Linked DNA regions of Homo sapiens: regions 2, 3, 4, 5, 6 and 7 are each linked to region 1. The links are contacts of gene promoters, found by promoter capture Hi-C in blood cells and fetal thymus (Javierre and others, 2016). All regions are on one chromosome and are shown on one strand. Each heading gives the region's core, a stretch centred on a gene start or on the middle of the fragment in contact. The rest is flanking DNA. Distances are from core to core; before and after follow the strand shown. Region 1 holds the start of BFSP2 (beaded filament structural protein 2). Region 2 has its middle 140 kb from the start of TMEM108. Region 3 has its middle 120 kb from the start of TMEM108. Region 4 has its middle 74 kb from the start of TMEM108. Region 5 has its middle 41 kb from the start of TMEM108. Region 6 holds the start of TF (transferrin). Region 7 overlaps TMEM108 (transmembrane protein 108).

The links. Contacts are between HindIII fragments. The CHiCAGO score rates a contact against its expected background, and 5 or more counts as called.
Region 2: a fragment that was not itself captured here is called in contact with the fragment with the promoter of BFSP2 in region 1 in 1 of 17 cell types (megakaryocytes); the score reaches 5.3 in megakaryocytes.
Region 3: a contact is called between a fragment that was not itself captured here and the fragment with the promoter of BFSP2 in region 1, in 1 of 17 cell types (megakaryocytes). The highest score is 8.4, in megakaryocytes.
Region 4: a fragment that was not itself captured here is called in contact with the fragment with the promoter of BFSP2 in region 1 in 1 of 17 cell types (erythroblasts); the score reaches 5.3 in erythroblasts.
Region 5: a fragment that was not itself captured here is called in contact with the fragment with the promoter of BFSP2 in region 1 in 1 of 17 cell types (megakaryocytes); the score reaches 7.1 in megakaryocytes.
Region 6: a contact is called between the fragment with the promoter of TF here and the fragment with the promoter of BFSP2 in region 1, in 6 of 17 cell types (fetal thymus, naive CD8 T cells, neutrophils and 3 more). The highest score is 7.8, in fetal thymus.
Region 7: a contact is called between a fragment that was not itself captured here and the fragment with the promoter of BFSP2 in region 1, in 1 of 17 cell types (megakaryocytes). The highest score is 5.1, in megakaryocytes.

Annotation. Positions count from the first base shown.
Region 1 is chr3:133,398,746-133,401,373 of GRCh38, reverse strand. BFSP2 (beaded filament structural protein 2) reads right to left here and starts at 1,318. Exons shown (of 7, transcript NM_003571.4): 1 at 802-1,318. The coding sequence starts at 1,290. The HindIII fragment of the contact is 8,153 bases long and covers 1-2,628 here.
Region 2 is chr3:132,900,031-132,902,658 of GRCh38, reverse strand. No RefSeq gene overlaps it. Among named protein-coding and RNA genes, the nearest start is that of TMEM108, 140 kb to the left of the region's middle. The HindIII fragment of the contact is 676 bases long and covers 1,002-1,677 here.
Region 3 is chr3:132,920,913-132,923,540 of GRCh38, reverse strand. No RefSeq gene overlaps it. Among named protein-coding and RNA genes, the nearest start is that of TMEM108, 120 kb to the left of the region's middle. The HindIII fragment of the contact is 677 bases long and covers 954-1,630 here.
Region 4 is chr3:132,963,288-132,965,915 of GRCh38, reverse strand. No RefSeq gene overlaps it. Among named protein-coding and RNA genes, the nearest start is that of TMEM108, 74 kb to the left of the region's middle. The HindIII fragment of the contact is 3,583 bases long and covers 1-2,628 here.
Region 5 is chr3:132,995,947-132,998,574 of GRCh38, reverse strand. No RefSeq gene overlaps it. Among named protein-coding and RNA genes, the nearest start is that of TMEM108, 41 kb to the left of the region's middle. The HindIII fragment of the contact is 1,249 bases long and covers 698-1,946 here.
Region 6 is chr3:133,745,082-133,747,709 of GRCh38, reverse strand. TF (transferrin) reads right to left here and starts at 1,317. Exons shown (of 17, transcript NM_001063.4): 1 at 1,227-1,317. The coding sequence starts at 1,269. The HindIII fragment of the contact is 7,126 bases long and covers 1-1,947 here.
Region 7 is chr3:133,061,173-133,063,800 of GRCh38, reverse strand. The region is part of intron 2 of TMEM108 (transmembrane protein 108); the gene reads right to left. Among named protein-coding and RNA genes, the nearest start is that of TMEM108, 24 kb to the right of the region's middle. The HindIII fragment of the contact is 418 bases long and covers 1,112-1,529 here.

The sequences.
Region 1 (2,628 bases), core at 69-2,568:
TCATTAGCCACATTTCAAGTGCTTGATAGCCATATATGGCTAGTGGCTGCCAGATTGGACAGTGCAGATATAAGATATTAATATTTCCATCACGCAGAAAGCTCTACTTGAATGTAAATTACCTCATTAATATATTTTGTATTGATTACATGTTGAAATAACATTCTGGACATATAGAGTTAAATAAGCTATAATATTAACTTCACCTGCTTCTTTTTACGTGTTTTACTGTGGGTAATAGAAACTTGTCAATTACCAATGTAGTTCATATTTCTATTGAACAGCGTGGTTGTAGGTGGATACAGGAACACACCTCCATTTATTCATTGTTCTTAACACCTCATCCATCCAATGGTATTTGATTGGATAATAGCTGTAAAAATCCCTTCTCAACAGTAAAGGTGACTGAGGCAGCCCCAGGGTAATGGGGCAAATGCAACTTTGGAGGCACAAAAATTCAGGTTCAAATCTCATCTCCATCCCTCTACTAGCTTTGAAGTCTTGGGCAAATTACATGCCTCAGTTTCTCATCTGAAAAATGCAATCAGTGAATGATCCACTGCATAGCATTTCTTTGAAGTTTAAAGAAGACAGTGGGTAGTGCACGTATGGGGGCTAGCGTGGGCTCCTAGTAAACCTCGGTAAAAGGTAGCATTGTTGTTATCATTACCATTTTAAGTGTGAAAGTGTAGGGGATTATGGTCAGTTTCTCTGGCCTCAGCCTACTCACAACCCTACCCGCTGCCTTCAGCAGCCCCTCCCAGCCCTCTGCAAAGCCCTTGGCACAGCCTGGACACTTACCTGCTGGCAGCTGCTGGCCCAGGAAGCCCGTAGGGCACCCCAGTTTCCCGAGCGTGTGGCTTTGCTCTCCAGGTGCATCCGCAGTTGTGTTTCCAGCTCCTGACTGACTTGCTCAAGGGCGTGCACTTTGGCCATATATTCCACCAGGCAGCCCCCTAGGTCCTCAACAGCACCATGGTCCCTCTCCAAACCTGGAGCCGGCACGGTGGCCAGGCCTGAGCTCCGCAGGCCCTGAAGGAAGACACTGCTGATGCCGAGGGCCCGGCGGGTCACACGGGCACCCAAGCCACCTATGCACCCACTGGGTGCTGTTCCTACATAGACCCCGGGTGCTCGGACAAGGCCACTCATGGCATTGGTCCTGGAGGCTGGGGGGCTCTCCAGGGAGGATGATGACCGTGGCCCCCTGAAGGACGCCCTGCGCCTCTGGAGGGGCATGCTGGAGCTGGCACTGGTGGGCAAGTCCACTACCACTCGCCTCTCACTCATCACCCCTTCTGCCTCTGTGGTGCCCAGTGGGTTTACAGAGTCCAGTGGCTTTTGGTTTACAGCCCCAGCATCCCTGTGGCCTGGTCACGGGCCTCTCTGGAATCTCCCCTATCCCTGGGGCTGCTTTGTCTGCTGTCTTCCATGAGTTTCCATCATTCACTGAGCTGAAAGAGAAATGGGCACTGCCCAGGGCTGTGTGCAGAGAGGCACTCATGCATTCTTTGATGCAGGGTCATGTGCCCAACCTCCCAGATTATTCTGCTGGTGGTGGGGGAGGCTGGATCAGTGCAGGCTGTGGAGGTAGACCATTTGGGTTTGTGCATTTTACTACCTAAGTGGGCAAGGCAGGCATCAAGCAACCCCATTTTACAGATGAGTAAACTGAGGCTCAAGGACCTCAGATGACAAGTGTACTGATCACTTGCCCCAGACCTCAGATTACAAGCTAGGACTCAATCTAGCTATTTCAGGGCTTTCTACATCCCTATGTGTGCTGGCACATGTGAATGTGAACACATGTCCACACAGGCAATAGAGGATGAAAAATGGCAGGAGGCAGCTCCAGGGACCCAAGAGAAAAGACTTGCCTATGGTTTCCTCTCTCAGTCCTGGCAGCAGCTTCAGGTCCTTCCCTCACCTCTCTCCTTTCCTCCTCATCTCTGTCCTCTAATGCTCTGCTGTTCATCAGCTGCTTGCTGTTGGCCAGGATGCTTCCTCCCTCTGGACCTCACTGTCTGAACATTGGCTTGGGCCTTTAACTCTCTGATGCACCAGATAAGGACCTTGGGCAAATTCAGATCCCACACATGTTCCGGCCATTCCCTACACCTCTGCTTCTCCATCTGTTGGAAAACTGAGAAATAAAAACAACAACGAGGGTGTTTTCTGGTAAGCCTCTCCAAGGGTGCCCCAAGTTAGGATATGATGACACCCCTGGGTTTTAATTATTGACCTTGGCATCCACTAAGCCACCAAGGGTCACACCTCAATCACTTCTCTAGGATCAGAAAGGTTCCCCCAGTTACAGGATGACAACATGGACCTAAAAACCTCTGTACATAAGTTTTACCCTGGAGAAACCAGGTCACCAAACCCCAGAGCTGGATACTTTTCCAGATGCTGTAATGTAGGAATGTACCTCAGGTGAGAGAAGGAGAAGGGAGTCAATCTCTAGTGAGTAGCAGATCCAGCCTGGTGTGTGCATGAATCCTATGGTTTATTTCGTGGAATTCTCAACTCAACCTCAGGAGGAAGGAGGTCCAGGGTTGACAGGTACTGCCATATGGGCTGTGTACCTCACAGCTCTAAAATGACATGTCCTACAGTTGGCCACTGTCC
Region 2 (2,628 bases), core at 90-2,589, 500 kb after region 1:
ACCACAGCTGGTTTTGGGCTGAGTCTCACCTAAGCTAGCAAGTCTCAGAGGCTCATCAAGGGCCTTGGTAGAACTTAGGTATCACTGCTGGTTATTCAGGGTCCAAGGGATCTTCAGTTAGCAGGTGATGAATTCTGGTAGGTCTGAGTCCTTTCCTTCAAGGCAGTGGGTTCCTTTCTGGTCCAGGGTGTGTCTAGAAATGTCATCTGGGAGCTAAGGCCTGGAATGGGGGCCTCATGACTCTGACCATTGCCCTGTCTTGCTGTAGCTTAGCTGGTATCCAAGATGCAAGACAAAGTCCTCCTCACTTTTCCCCATCCTCTCCTCAAGTGGAAAGAAGGGGTCTCTTTGGAGCCGCCAGCTGTGCAGCCTGGGGTTAGGGGAGGGGTGGTGCCAGCACTCCCTTGGCTGCCCCAGCTTGTGTCTTGGTATGTTGTATGCCTCCCTAGTCCACTGTCTCTGGGCCTAGTTCAGCACTAGGTCTTGCCTAAGAGTTGCTGTGTTTATGGCCTAGACTGCCTTTCAAATTTATTTGGAGTCACGGAGTACTATAGCCCTCAGTGGTGAGGTTTGCAGGCACTTGAGTTCTGACAGCTGGGATCTGCGATTCCCCTCTGGCTAGGGTTGATTTAAATGCCTCCTCTGTGGATGGGCATCAGCTGAGTTTGGTCCAGTTTTTCTTTCTGCTCTGAGAGGACAGCACTGGGCTCAATAACTCACAATTGATGTGTTCTCCCTTCCCCAGTGCCCAGAGATGCTCTTCGCACCATCCTGCTGCTGCTGGGGGTAGAGGAGGGGGGCACTGGTGATTCAAGCCTGTTTTTCCTACATCTTCAGTGTCTCTTTCAGTGATACAAAGTTAAAACCGGGTACTATGTGTGCTTACCTGATTTTTAGTTCTTATGAAGTTGTTTTTTTCAGTGTGGACGGTTGTTAACTTGGTGTCCTTGCAAGGGAGAGCTTTCTATTCCACCATCTTGCTCTATCCAAAAAAAGAAGCTTCTCTTTTATAGACTGAATTTGTATGAAGAGCTTAGAGTCACAGAATTGACTTAGTTGCTTCTTAGCAATTCCTTGCCTTCTCTTGAATATGCAGGCACTTGTCAACCATTGAGGCAGAGACAAAGTCCCACCTGACATGTTATGCCTGTTTGTCTTCCCTTGAGGACTGATCCTGTAGCTTTCTCACCCTCGTATTCCTAATGTGTAGCAGAGAGTCAAGTGGTAATGAATTTCAAAGATTAATAACTAATTACTATACAACATGATACATTTATAATAGTCATAAAGCAATATGCTTTGATACACAAGGAGGGAATGGTCAAATCCACCATTAGGAAAGACTCAGAAATGTAAACTCTTCCCTAAAAATACATGTCCTGAATTACCAATTAGTCTTTAGGAAAAGGCATTAAGTTTTCTTCTCTATTTTTGACTTGTTTTTAAAATTCTTCTGTAAAGGAACATACAGAATCAAAATAACAAAATGATGTGTTTTGAAAATTCTCTACCATCTTTTTAAAACCTCAAAATTCATAAAAATACTCATATCGGGCTACTCTGAATTTAGGATTTAAAACAGGAACAGTTTTAGCTTTAAGTAAATAATTATAAAAGTTAATTTCTAAAAGTATTGTCTAGGGTTTCTCCTGGTTCTGGTTGAAAGTAACAGAAGCTTGATGGATTTAACTTTGGCTGAAAACTGAGTTCATTATAAAGATGACAGTGGCCACCAGGAAACCCAAAGGCAAAATGTAGCTGGATTCAGGATCAAATTAGGACCAGAGACTATCCTAGAATGCCTGATAGAGCCTTGAAATTCTTTACCATTCTGTTTCCAAGCTTCTTCTGTTTTGTAACACCATAGTTTAACAGCCACTGCTAATGATGTCTAAGTTGGCATGTTACTAGTTTCACCACCCTTAATCTTGCTTGCTCTTAGTCTCAGCTCCAACTTCCTGTTTAGATCAGGTGCCCCAATCTAATCAGCCTTGGCTGTGCCACTATGTTCATTATACAGGAGGCAGTTCTCAGAAGTGGGGATGGGAGATTGGACTTCTAACCTAATTGATATCCAGGACAGATATTTCAAAGGCTTGGTTCTTTATCTCAAGAAAACTTTCAACTCAGGGCCTTGGCAATTGATTTACCTATTGAGAACAGGCATTACCCACTGTATTACTCTGAAATAATTTATATTCTCTTCAAAGATGGGAATATTCTTGCTCTTTAACAGGAAAGCTTCATTGTTAGAACTTCCTTGTTATTTACACCAAGAGTTTCAGTCCACGGTTGCTGTTCTATTTGAAATTAGAGAAGGAAAACAACACAGCATCTCCAAATATAAATGAACTTAAAATCAAATTTGAAATTCAACCAGACTCCAAATTTACTGAGCTTCTTTCCTGAAGATAACTTGCAGGGGGGCCCAGCAGGATTATAATCAGAAATTACATTTGACCTAGAAAAAGTGAAATTATGTATTCTTTTTCACTTGAGAATACATATATCAAGTATATATATATATATAATTATAATAATATATAATATATACACACATAAATGTATGTATACTACACACATATGTATATATTATCAAGTACGTATATAAATACATATTCATATATT
Region 3 (2,628 bases), core at 43-2,542, 480 kb after region 1:
GGAGAGAGCCGCTTCACCAAAGTCATGTCCCCTTCTCCAAGGGCAGTATTCATCACATGACTGTCTACGTAGAAGTCCTAGTCCCCTCACCCTACCTGGAACTACTCTGAAGGGTCACTTCAGCTTCAGAATTCCCAGGGTATTGATGAAGGATATTGTTATTACTGCATTCAGTGTAAGTTCTCTTCCTGTTCAATGCCACTTCTTTCTCTTCCCTTCTACACATGTTTATCCTGAGAGACCTTCTAAGGAAACTCTACACACTAATATCCATCTCTCGATGTGTTTGCTGGAGAACCCAATCTGCACCAACACTGACATTTGAAAAATCTGAGCCTTCGTCAGGTAAATTAACCTCTGGCTTTTTAGTTTTCTCATTTATAAAATGAAAATAGTAATAGTATACTCCTTACGGTTTGTTGAGGATTAAATTACTAATATTTAAAAGTACTTAGAGCAGTGACTGTTTCGTGCAGTACCCAAAAAGTGTTAGTCATCATTATGTAGTGGGTCTGTAGACATAAAGTTATATTAATATCTGTCATGATCATATTCCTTGTTCCAAAAACACTATTATTCATATGCAAAACCTAGGTTAATTGGGGAATTATCTATTTACTTATGTATTCAGGCACTTTGCATGGGCCGATGGGAAGGAAGTGCAGGTACACATATACTAACGTTATCTGAGTTAGGGTAGAGAATATTAAGCTGATAAAAGCCAGTGGGTTACACTGTCTTCAGTACATAGTGACATTCTTATTTCCTCTTAAACAGAGAACAGTATAAAACAGAGAAGAGCTCTACAATGTGAATCGAAAAGACAGTGATACATGAAAGCATTAGAATCAAATAATTTCAGGACAGAAAGGGATCTTACCCATCTAGCCCAACTATTCATACAGGAATAAATAAATCTAGCTGCCACATCTAATATATATATATTTAAAGCTTATCTTGTTTCTCCTTTCTGCAGGTTTAATAGTGAATGTTACCATTCTGTCTTTCCAGAAACCTAACACATATATATGCATGTATACATACACACACACACACACACACACACACAAAACAAACAAACAAACAAAGAAACAAAACCCATACACTCACAGTCTTGGAATTAATGCCCTGGGCCCTTGGTTTTCTACTGATTTTGGCTCCATTTATGTTTAGCTGAATGAACCAGCACTATCTTCTGGATGGTACTCCTTTTCTTCGGTCTCCACTGGGCTCTGTAAGGTCACATTTTTAATGCACACATCACTACAGCTCAAGTCCTCAACTCAGTGATGTTATACATCTAGTCTTTGTCAGATTCCCCTTCCTGGGTACTTTTGGGAATTCTCAGGAATTACACTGGCCAGCCATCTGGATGTGAACTGCTGTCTGCTCTTCACATATATCTCTGTCCATCCCTTTGTGGGTCACATTTTGTGGGCATTCCTCTTTCTGCGCTCCTCTATACTTCCTCCCTGCAAGTGCAAGGGAAGGTGGCAATATCCTTCTCTCAATTCTTTCCACAGATGACAGCATCTTGATGGCAACCTTTAACCAGACCTTACAGAAAGCATGGAGATGACAGAAGTAATTTAGTTATCCAAGTTATCTTTGCTGTGTAACAATAGAAGCTTAAAAAAACAACCAGCACTTATTATAAATCACACTTTTTTTGGATTCCTTTGCATCATGGTGTCAGCTGGGGCTGCAGTCATGTAGGGGCCCAACTGAGCTGGAATTTCCAATGATACGAAACAATACAAAGCAAAGTTCGCAATAAAGTTAATTCTACAATTTCTATAAACAGAGAGGCATGAGACCCAGGTCTTAGTGTTCAAAAGTTGGATTTTCACACTCACTTGGGACAGGAGATGTGACTGGGCTCTGGATGAGGTGGGGAGTTAGGACTGCATATATCTCTATATAAGGGGATCTATAAATACTATGCTCTTCAGCCCAGGTAAACCTGCTGTCTACCTGTGTTTTAGGGTAAAATTATTGTTTTGCTTGAGCAATCAAAATCACACGTCTATGCTAAACAATAGTTAGAGAAAGTAAATATATACTTCTCGTGAAGTGTAGAAGTCCCAAGTACAGAAATTAACGTAAAATATGTTTTGGGGCCAGTGAAATCTGTGTCCTTCTCTAGCAGAAACAGATGCAGAAAAGAACTATTTTATATAGACATTTAATGAACCTAGGATATTAAGAAATTTCACGGAGGATGGGTACATAAAATGGTTCAAAATAAACAATTATTAATCTACAAGAGATGATTATCTGCCAGAGTCTCTATCATAGTAGACGTACCATGCCATTTCTCCATCATAGTAGAAGCCACAGAGAGAATTCACTCCCCATGAACTCAAATAATTGCAAGCTAAAAGAGACTATAGAAAAAGTATTCTTGAAATGATTCAATAAGACAAAATTTTAACATATAACATGACATGACCCAAGGATAAAAATAAGAGGTCAACTTGAAAATAAAACAGAATTGACAGAAATGAAAAATGGAATCATCGAAATGAAATATATATTAGATAAGTTTAATAGCAAACAAGACAAGCTGGAAAAAATAGCAAACTGGAAATAAGTCTGAGGAAATTACGCAGAATGTAGAATAGAGAG
Region 4 (2,628 bases), core at 61-2,560, 440 kb after region 1:
TTACATCCAGAATTCAAATGGTGCCACAGGGTGCCAGTTGTCTAAAAATTGGCCTAGTAAATTTTATAATTATGGTTTATGAATGTATGAGGGAGTTAAACTCAGAGTCAATAAGTCAGGATTCAAATTCCAACTTTACTACTCGTCAATGTGTGAATCTGGAGGAATGAATCTCTGTCTTTGAGAACTTGGAGGAAAGTTCCCTACCTGGGTCCTGAGATCCACACCATCATATGGTCATTTTTTCCCTCCTCGGACAGGAGATAAATTAGCAGACTGTGACTGTCATCTAGGAAGGACATGTAGATCCATGTATGTGCTTGTTCCCACAAGATAGGCTACATATCTGCTGAAAGAAAGAACACTAAGTATCATCTATAAATCTCCAATGAAATGGCCTTTTTTTGTTTAGATATCATGCTTTCCTGCTCTTTATGTTTCTATGCAAGAACAGGAAGAAACCCACCCTTCCATGTCCTGAGGGACTTAAGAGAGTAGTGACTGGATGTCCCCAGGGATTCAACGTGTCTGTTCCTAGTGAAGCAAGGAAAGGGATGGGGGCTTTCACTTCTTAGGAGGGGTCTGGCCAGATACATACTGACAATAGTCCTGTCACACTGTCCCCCATGCCCCTCCTTGTCTTTGAGGAGAAACACAGGTCTGCAGTTAAAAACTGTTTAGATAATTGGAAAAAGCCACACACAGACAAACTTGGAAGCTATGTGGGTGATTTCTGGCCATTTGACAGGAAAACCTATTGATCAATCTCTATCCTTATCTTTTGGGTCCTGAAATTTATGTTGTTAGCATAAAGAATCTGGAGGGAAGAGTTGTGTCAAGACCAGCAGGCCCAAATTAACTACTCTAATATTTGGTTTCTGGTCTACAAATAACACCAGTTTATTGCAGAGGTGACACATGTAATATATGGCAAGCTCTTTGTAGACTGTTAAAGGCTATACAATGTGAAAAATTGCTATTGTGCTTGATTAAAAGGTATTGTACCTAGAAGGTGACATTTTGTTTTTCTAATAATCAGTTTCCAAATTATCTCTAAAGAGAAAAATAAATGAGTCTATAAATATATATCCTAACGTAATATGTGTGTTTGTGTATATGTACACAAACATTCACTTAGACTCTTATTTTCTACCATAGAATGATGTGCTGAAGTGGTTTTGTGTGAATTCTAACAATAAAGTTTTTTTTTAAAAGCATGATTCCATTGTGTTGTATGCAGTCCTGACAATGGGTATAGAGGCCAGCACAGAAATTCAACAACATTTATCCACAAAGCATGCCAAAAATCAATTTGGAGGATGGGTAAGAAATCATAAAGGGCAAAAGGAAACTGCACGCTTGCACACATTAGGAGTGTTGTCAATGTTAGATCTCTGCCACCCAGCTGATCTCGCACATCTGCTATCTTCCTTTTTTTGGTGCTGAGTAACAGGATGTTTAACTTCCTAGCAACAATCTTGCCCTGGCCAGGCATATGGGAGACAAATCATTCTGAGTGTGTAGGTTAGAGAGAGCAAATGCCCCTCTGTTAATAGGCTTCCAAATCTGTAAGGTTAATAAGTGTATGGCTTTCTTTAAGAAAGTGTTTTACAAAGATAAAATCATCGACACCTTTAGTAATGCATGCATCTGGGTCAAAACTGACAATGGGACTGGAAAGGCACTCACTCCCTAATTATCAACTAAATGATTTTTTTTTTTTTAAGTTTGGGAGACTAGTTGTGAGATGTAAGTGGCAGAAGAGGTCTCAAAGGTTGTCTTGTCCAACTCCGTCATTGAACTCCAGAAAGGAAAAACAACATACCCTAGTTCACATAGCTAGTGACTGAGCTTTTTCCAGAACCAGAGGCTTTTGTCCCCTTAATTGGTGACCTATTTACCTCAAAGCAGCCTGTCTAATACCAGCAAGTGATGAACATCCAAGCCTTTATCTTTTGCCTTGTGGGTTTTCTCTGCTGGATTTTGATGTCCTCCCTGGCACCCTTCTGGCCACAGGCCCACAATGTTATTCTTACATGTGTTCAGATAAGCATGATCGTTTTAATACAAACATCAGCACATGTAGCAATTTTAAAGCTGATTTGACTAATTTATGTCATTGTTCCACTTCATTAAAGTGAAATCACCAGAAGTGAATACCTAGGCACTTATGCACACTTGTTGCAATGAATCCTCTTGACAGTTATCCTCTGACCCATGGAACTGGAGAGAATGTTCATTGCAGCACACTTACTCCAAGAGTTTTGTGCATTTTCCCCTGTTTAATACTTAGCCAAATATCTTATTAATTTGTGTCTTTTCTGAGTGTTTTATCCTTTAGTTTTATTTTTGGGTCTTTCCCTTGCCATGGGCTGGTCACCAAGGCAGCCGGTATGTCTAGTAGGTGGAGGGAACAGATTGTGAAGGAGTGAGTAGAGGGACCTTTGGAGAGAAACAGTATTGTTTCCAGGATTGAATCTAAGGCATGCGGCTTAATTTATAAATTGTCTTTTTATTTGTTATCTACCTAAAGGAATATGTTGTACATGTAGGACACATTGTATGTTTTCAAGATTCCTTGAATCAAAGAATGAAAAAAAATAGGCATACCTCTTTTTACTGCACTTC
Region 5 (2,628 bases), core at 73-2,572, 400 kb after region 1:
TACTATGCAATTGTCACAATAGACATCAACCAGACTGTCTTAAACTTTACTTTGAGCAAGTAAATATTTACTTCTTTTAATGTGAGATCTCCTTACTGCCTAGTACTTAGGTAAGCTGGACCAAAATTTAGCCGCAGGACCCTGGCTCCTAGTTGTGAATTATTGGAGCCTATACTTGGATAGAATAATGAAATGATGGTTATTGTGAGGGTATTGCAGAAGCACAGGCCAGTAACAGTTAAATCTTTGGAGACCTTTGATGGTCCTGAATCAAACACAGGTGTAGCCATTATTCAGAGACAAGCCAGCAAGAGGAAAGGAGATGCTGATATCAACAACTCATTTTAGCAGAGTGTATCAAGCCTGAAAAGATTTAGAAGGCTATTTTTAAAAGCCCTGCATTTTGTGCCTGATTTATAAGGCAGACACTAAAAATATTAATAAGTATAAATGGTGCTGATCCATGAACATGATGAGCTTTCAAGTTCTGGAGCCACAAGGTGACAGACTGCCATGAAGATGCTTGCATCTTCATAATATCCTGAAGGGATCCAACTTTAAAGAAGAAAACATTGGTATTTTAAATCCCAGTTTGGCATTTAACTGTGTTAAGTCATTCTGTTACATTGGCATCACTTAAATAGCCTTAAAAATAAAAAATAAAATAAACCAGATTGTACTACACATCATAGAAGCTTAATATAGATGCTTTAAACCCAAGGGAAATTATGTCCAATGCAAATTATTTTCCCGATATTGCCTTTCTAAGTTCCGTAATTGCAACTTGCATATAGCTATATTGAAACAGGTCACAGGTTGATATAAAAACAAAGATGACTATTATCAGGGCAAAGGGAAGAGATATGTCTGAAGTAGTGTATCTCTAGGGGTAAGTTAATCAAGGGAAACAAGAGTTGGCAGACAGAGTAGTTTCCAAACCAATTTGCCAACCTATTCTTGCCAGGAAAACCAGGTGCAGTCCTTAACCACATGATTTGGGTACACCATTATAATAATTAAAAATAGAAAGGCCTAAGCATGGTATAGCTACTTTGGAAGAAGTTTGGCAGTGTTTAATAAAGCTGAAGATACACATACATTAATGAACCAGTTTTTCCATTCTTAGGTACATACTTTACAGAAACACATACTTAAGTGCACCAAAAGACTTGTATAGGAATGTTCATTGAAGCATTCTTTGTAATAGCCTCTAACTGGAAACAACCCAATGTCCATGAACTGAACACTGGATAAACAAACTGTGATATAGTTTCACAATGGAATACCACACGATAATGAAAACTCACAAACTGCAGTTGAATCTTAAAGACATAATATTGAGTAAAAATGTTAAATTCAGACATGCCAGAGTATATTGCATGATTTCAAATAACATGAATTGAACTACATTGTTTAGTAATGCATACTTAGGTAGTGAAACAATAAAGACTAGCAAAGATGTGAATGGCATAACAGTAAGAATGGTACGTTTCCTCAAAGAAAGAAGAGCTTATGATAACGAGGGGCACAAAAGAGGCTTGTCTTGCTTGACCTGAATGGAGAACATGAATCCATTTTCCTACAATTTGTTAAGTTGTAAATTGATGTTTTATGCACATTTCAGTATATTTGTTAACATTTCAAAATTTTTTAAAAGGAGGAAAAATGGGAATAAGGTATTTTGGGTTTCTTGACAGAATTATTTTTGACTCACATATTGTCAAGGGAATTTAAGAATAAATTCATCATTGTTTATCTATGGGAGTGTGTTTTAAAGTTGTACCATTGCCTACTTTTTAAATCCTCCTTGAAATTATCTATTTACTCCTGTTATCTAAACCAAGTGATGCTTTTTTCAAACAAAGGTTAATAGGCAAGAATTAGAACATGAAAATCTTGTAAAAAATGAAGAGAAATATAATCTTTGAAGCCATCACTTGAAAGCTTTCTAAAGATTTACATATCTAGATTATAACAAGGACCAACCTGTGAGACTATGAACGCTCCTATGTGCTCTTTTCCTTTTAGATAGATTCATTTCAAATCACTTCCTCCATTACTATCGGAACTCCCTCTGATGGACACCAGCATGAAGACAGCAGGGGTCATTGATCTAGCCATAGGCCTGAGAGAGGAACACTCCTAGACCATCCAGGGCTGCCATCTTACTGAGTTTCCCCAGGCAGCCCTGATTCATGTTTCGATTTCCTCATTAGTAAATTAGGGTCATAACCTTCTTAACCTGCTTTGCTGCCTCAGCATATGGATTCATTATTCAAGGCCAAACAAAATTTTATTTCAGTTAAAAATGTCTACTGTTATGGGTAGATTTTAACACATTCTTGAGAGAAAGTTTTATTTTTCAGCTTGTGTGGTTTTGGCATCTTCACAGAAATTCATTCTTGTATTCATTTTTAAACATGACTTCACTAGCTGTCTCCCCTCTCCTTATGCGTAGATTTCAACACTATCAAGAGATAGTTTTGCTTTTTACCTTCTGCTGGTTTTTTTTCTTTTGGCATTTTCAAGGATTCTCATTTTTTAATACATTATTAAAGTGACTACATTAGCTGTCCCCTTTTCTTTATAAACACCCTGGAATTGCGAATTATATTTGGTGAGTCTGAG
Region 6 (2,628 bases), core at 68-2,567, 350 kb before region 1:
TCCCCTCTGTCTCCACTGAACTATCCCTCCATTTTCACCACACTTTTTGGCTGCCATTCACAAAAAAAGCTGAAGCCAGCCATGGGTAACTATTAAAATCCATGTGGTTGCAGAGACAGCATCCCTATCACATGAGCTTTTGCCCTGTCCCCAAGGCCCTCTGTCATCTCCACTCCTTGTGGGCCACCACAGCAAGGCTGACTCACTGGCTCTGAAGAAGATCCACAAAGCCTGTGGAGAGGAGGCCCACAGCTCTCCAGGATGCATGAGGAGGGGCCACCAGGGATGGCCACCCCAGCGACCCCCATTTTCCCTCTTGGCCCATGGGAAATCCTAGGAGGCAACATAAGCCTGTGGCAGCCCCTCCACAAAGCCCTGCCTCCAGAGTTCCCATAGGCGAGAATGTGTCCTCAGTGGAGCATTACCTTGCACAGCCTGTGAAGTGCTCTGTGCGGGGATAAAGGCAAGTAACGTGGGGTCCTCTCTCAAGGAATTGCTAGCTTATGGGGAGAGAAAACTAAACGTGGAAGCCCCAACAGTGTGACAAATGCCCCATGAATGGCAGGCAGAAGTTAGAGTATGAAGGGGGCCCCACCTCAGGAGGTCGGGGAGTGTGGCGTCAGCCACTGCCCCATAGCAGGATGTGTGCAACATCTGCCACTGGTACTCAGCATCTGCCACCTCGCTGACCCTCATTTGACCCTCCCAGGCAAGTGCTGTGATGACCCCCTCCCTGGTGAGGAGCCGGCCAGGACTTGGATCCAAGAAGTCTGGCTTCAAACCCCATGCTCTGACCGCTCGATGGCACCGCTTCCTTGGCAGGACATCTACAGCTCCCAGGGCACCCAGGGGACATCAGCCTCTGAAAGGGGAATGGTCAGACCCGGGAGGCCTTGAATGCCATGCTAAGGAGTTCGGACTTGACAAGAGGCAGCAGCAAAGGGTTTTGATAACCTGGTTAGACGTGCTCTGATTTATTGTATTTCACTGCTGCAAGATTTACTGGACAAAGAGGAGGAGGGGGAGAAGACAGTGAGTGCAGTGAAAGGTGTCTAGAAGCCCAAGCAAAGGCCAGGGGTGGGGCGTAGAGAGGCAATGGAAAGGCACCCAGACACCCAGGCTTCCAGCCTGAGCGCGGAGTGCATGCAGGCTGCGCGGTGGCCGCCCGGGTTGCAGGGAACGCGCGGGCCAGCGACTCTGCGGTGCTACCCCGTGCCCGCACTCACCCAGGACGGCGCAGACCAGCAGGGCTCCCACGGCGAGCCTCATCTTCCGGGTGCGGCGCTGAGCAGCGAGCACAGTCGGACTCGCTTCTGTGCAGCCTCCGGCGCCCCGCGTCCCTTTATTCCATTCCCGGCCTGGGCGGGCTGGGCGCAATCTTTGACCTCCCGTGTTTGTGCAGCCGGGTTGCCCAATCGCCCCTCTCCCAACCCCCCTTCCTTACTCGTCCCACTGATCACCTCATTTTCTGAGCTCTGGAGACGACCCGCGAGTGGAAGGAGTCCAGCACAGAAATGTTGATGGGAAGGGACATGAAGCACAATGCAGCCATTGTCATCGCGGCTCGCTCGGTGCCAGGAGCGGCTACGGCGGGCTGGGAGCCGGGGGGCTCTGCTCCTGACTCCAGGGCTGCAGAGCTGGTCCGTGCCACCAGTCCTATCTGCGCAGTCCACAGAGGAAGACTCCGAGGCTGGAGAGGGAAAAGAACTGCGCCCAGACCCCACACTAGAACTGCAGAATGACAGGCAAAGCCCCTTTTGGGGGAGGATGCAGGAGAAACAAGCTGGGCTCAAGGTCAAAGACAGACTCAGCACCTTTTGCTCCCCACCAGGTGTCCCTCGAAATCCTGCTCCTGGGCTCTCAAAGGTCCCCCACGGAGGAGCTGCTCCCTCTTCCTGCCCCGCTGAGCTCAGGCTCCTGGGCTGGAAAACTTCCCGCCCTCAAGCTTCCTGTGGGACACCTTAGACTAGGGACAGAGTCATAGGGGAAGATGAACTCCCTCCAACAAGAAGGTTCCAGGAACATGGTCAAGACACTGTGAGGCTCAGAACAAAGTGTCATCTTAGCACAAAGCAAGCGGCCCAGTGGACGGTGTGGCCTGTTCTTACAGCCTGGGGCCACCATGTCCCCCTCTAGTCGATGAGTCTCCTAACCAGTTTAATTACACATCCTTATCATGAAAAATATTGAACTTGTGCCTTCTATATGCTTATATTTTAACTAAAAAATGTGTACACTTCAATCATGCACAAGGAATAGAAATTTGTAAAAGGATGAGCTAAAGATGAAACTCATTTTCAAATGTCGTTTTGCTTATGCGGCCTTATACAGGATTATTATCTCAAGGCATAATATACTTGGGGAAAGGTCAAGATTCCTTCCACGAAGTGTAAATCCAGACTTCAGAGATTTTGCCAAAAGTTACTTCTTATCCAACCTGACCAGATGGTCATTCATTCTGTCTCATGTTTTAGTTGACCAAGCTCATATCAAGCCTAGTGGACACGTCAGGTCAGTCATTTGATTTTTGTTCACTTGTTTTTGTGTTGTCAGAATTGTCTCCTAATTCTAGTTTCTTTGTAAGAATCTTTTTAAGGCATGTGTGCATCTCGTGAAGGTTGGAGTTAA
Region 7 (2,628 bases), core at 71-2,570, 340 kb after region 1:
CTGTATAAGACCACCCCCTCAAGCAGGAGTCCAGCGGGAGACCCAAAACCCTGGGTGCTGTCCTTTCTCCCATTCCAGTCTATAAATCAATAGCCTTGGGAATATCAGGACTAACTTAATCATATCTTTTATCCCTGTTAAGAATACAAGGAGAAGCCCTCAAGGACTCACAAGTCATTTCTCAACCTTACACTTTTACCACCATATGGCTCTTTCCATTCCTCTTCCTGACCCTATCACCCACCATTCCCAATGCTTGAAACCCTTTCCCTGTGCTGTCTGGAACTTATAGTCATTAGCAAGATCCCACTGCTCACTCCACCTCTAGCCCCCCTATGTGGTGACTATTTTCTCCCCACATTCCCTGAACTTCAAGGCTTAGAGGTAGAGTGGGTTATCTTTATCACATCTATACCACTGTCCCTCCTTTCTTCTGTAAAATCCTGACCTTTGATTCACACAAAATCAGACTATATTGCCCACTCTCCCTCATTCTGGGAAGATCTGGGTTCCTGGTTCCCTGTCACTCTTCATCACTCCTGTGGCCATGACTCTAAGTGAATTCAGTAGCCACAGAGATGATCATTCCAATACCCTGGCTTTTCAGTCCCTGTTCTCTGCCCTAACTCCAAGGTCACACACCACTTCTTAGCTGAAATTCCTCCATGTTGCTCTCCCACCACCAACATCTCCTGTCAGTTTCCCATCTCTGATACCACAACTTCAGCAAGTCTCTGACCCCAGGGAGACCTCCAACCCATTGGATACTACAGCTTTTCACTGTCCCTCACCCTCCTCATGTCCAAATTCACCTCCTTAGCCAATTTAAATTCCACAGTCAATTGTCATAACCACTCCCTTCCATACATGCTGAACTCTATCCCCACTCTAGTGTGGACCTGCTCACTCGGCAAAAACATGGCCTCGTTCACTTCAACACTCCACTCATACACATGAAGGCCCAGAGGGAGAAAAACACATAACACCTTTGAATGATCTCACTCGAAAGCCACAATATGGAACCTCACATTGCTTAGGTGATTGGCAAAAGTCCTCAGAAGTGTTGTCTCCAAACCTTCTCCTTCCATTCTCACTTGAATCCACAGAAGCTTGATAAATCTTTGTGGAAATGAACTGACATTAAGTAACATCACCAGATTTTAGACTAAAACAAATTTAATTATGTGTAAATACATTTTATATGAGATTTACTTCAGATTTCAAAGGCAGTTTGTGTCCTGGGTTAGAATGTTTCCAGAGATTCCTCTTAGCACAAATTCTTATGGTAAGACTATAAAAGAGGAGAATGTGTGGCAGAGAACATTAAAGATTCAAGGTCACTAACCAAATTCCTTTAAATCTATCCTGATTCTTCAGACCACAGGCTCATATCCTACTGGCTCCAAAGACTGTTCTACTGGTCCATTAGCTAGAGACAGATGTTTTTATTCTCTGAGCCTAAAGAAAATTACAATAAAGATGAGACGTTAATAGAAAATTAATAAAATTATCAAAAACTCTAAAAAGCTTTCCTAGCTATTGTTTATCCATTGGGTTAACAGGTTATGATTTTCCAATGTCAAAAACTAATATGATGCTGCTAAAGGAACATCAGAAAAGAAAAACTGGATGAAGGAATGACTAAGCATTGATTTTACTTGCAAAGCTAATTAGTGACCTTTTCTCCTAGAAAATGCATTCTTGGACTTTCTCTCCAACACTGCCATCCAGAAGACTCACCATCCATGCTATCAGATTTAAATTGCACGTTTTTAGGATACCTAATTAATTGCCAATGAAGGAAATTACTAGTTCCTTTTGAAAAATACATGCCCCAACTGGTAGCAACACTCAGTTAAATGGTACTGGAGGTCTACACATTATGCCCAAACCCCTTCCCTTGAACGCAAAGCAATCACTAATATTCCTTTCATATTTGGGTAAATCCTCAAGGTAAAGTGATAAATCTGAATCCACATGCCATTATAAAATTTCTCCTTGGTGGGTACTTACATATTCCACACACCAGTGCAGTATGCCTACTTAGTAACATATAGCCTTGAAATTATTCTAAACTTTAAATTCCTAGGGAACAAGGACACCTCTCTGTATTCATATCCCCTAGTTTTATAGGGCATATACAGTTAATAAATGCTCTATGAAAGCAATGTCCAATCCTCTGTACCCATTTAATACTCTGACTTAATTAGACGATGCTGCAAGCACTTGGTCAGTAGGGCAATGCATGTTTTAAATATTGTTGTGACTTTTAAGAATGAGACATGCCCGGCTGGGCACGATGGCTCATGCCTGTAATCCCAGCACTTTGGGAGGCCGAGGCGGGAGGATCACGAGGTCAGGAGATGGAGACCATCTTGGCTAACACGGTGAAACCCCATCTCTACTAAAAATACAAAAAAAATTTAGCTGGGTGTGGTGGCGGGCGCCTGTAGTCCCAGCTGCTTGGGAGGCTGAGGTGGAGAATGGCGTGAACCCGGGATGCGGAGCTTGCAGTGAGCAGAGATCGTGCCACTGCACTCCAGCCTGGGCGACAGAGTGAGACTCTGTCTCAAAAAAAAAAAAAAAAAGGAGACATGCCCATTGTACAAACATTCAAATGACACAGCA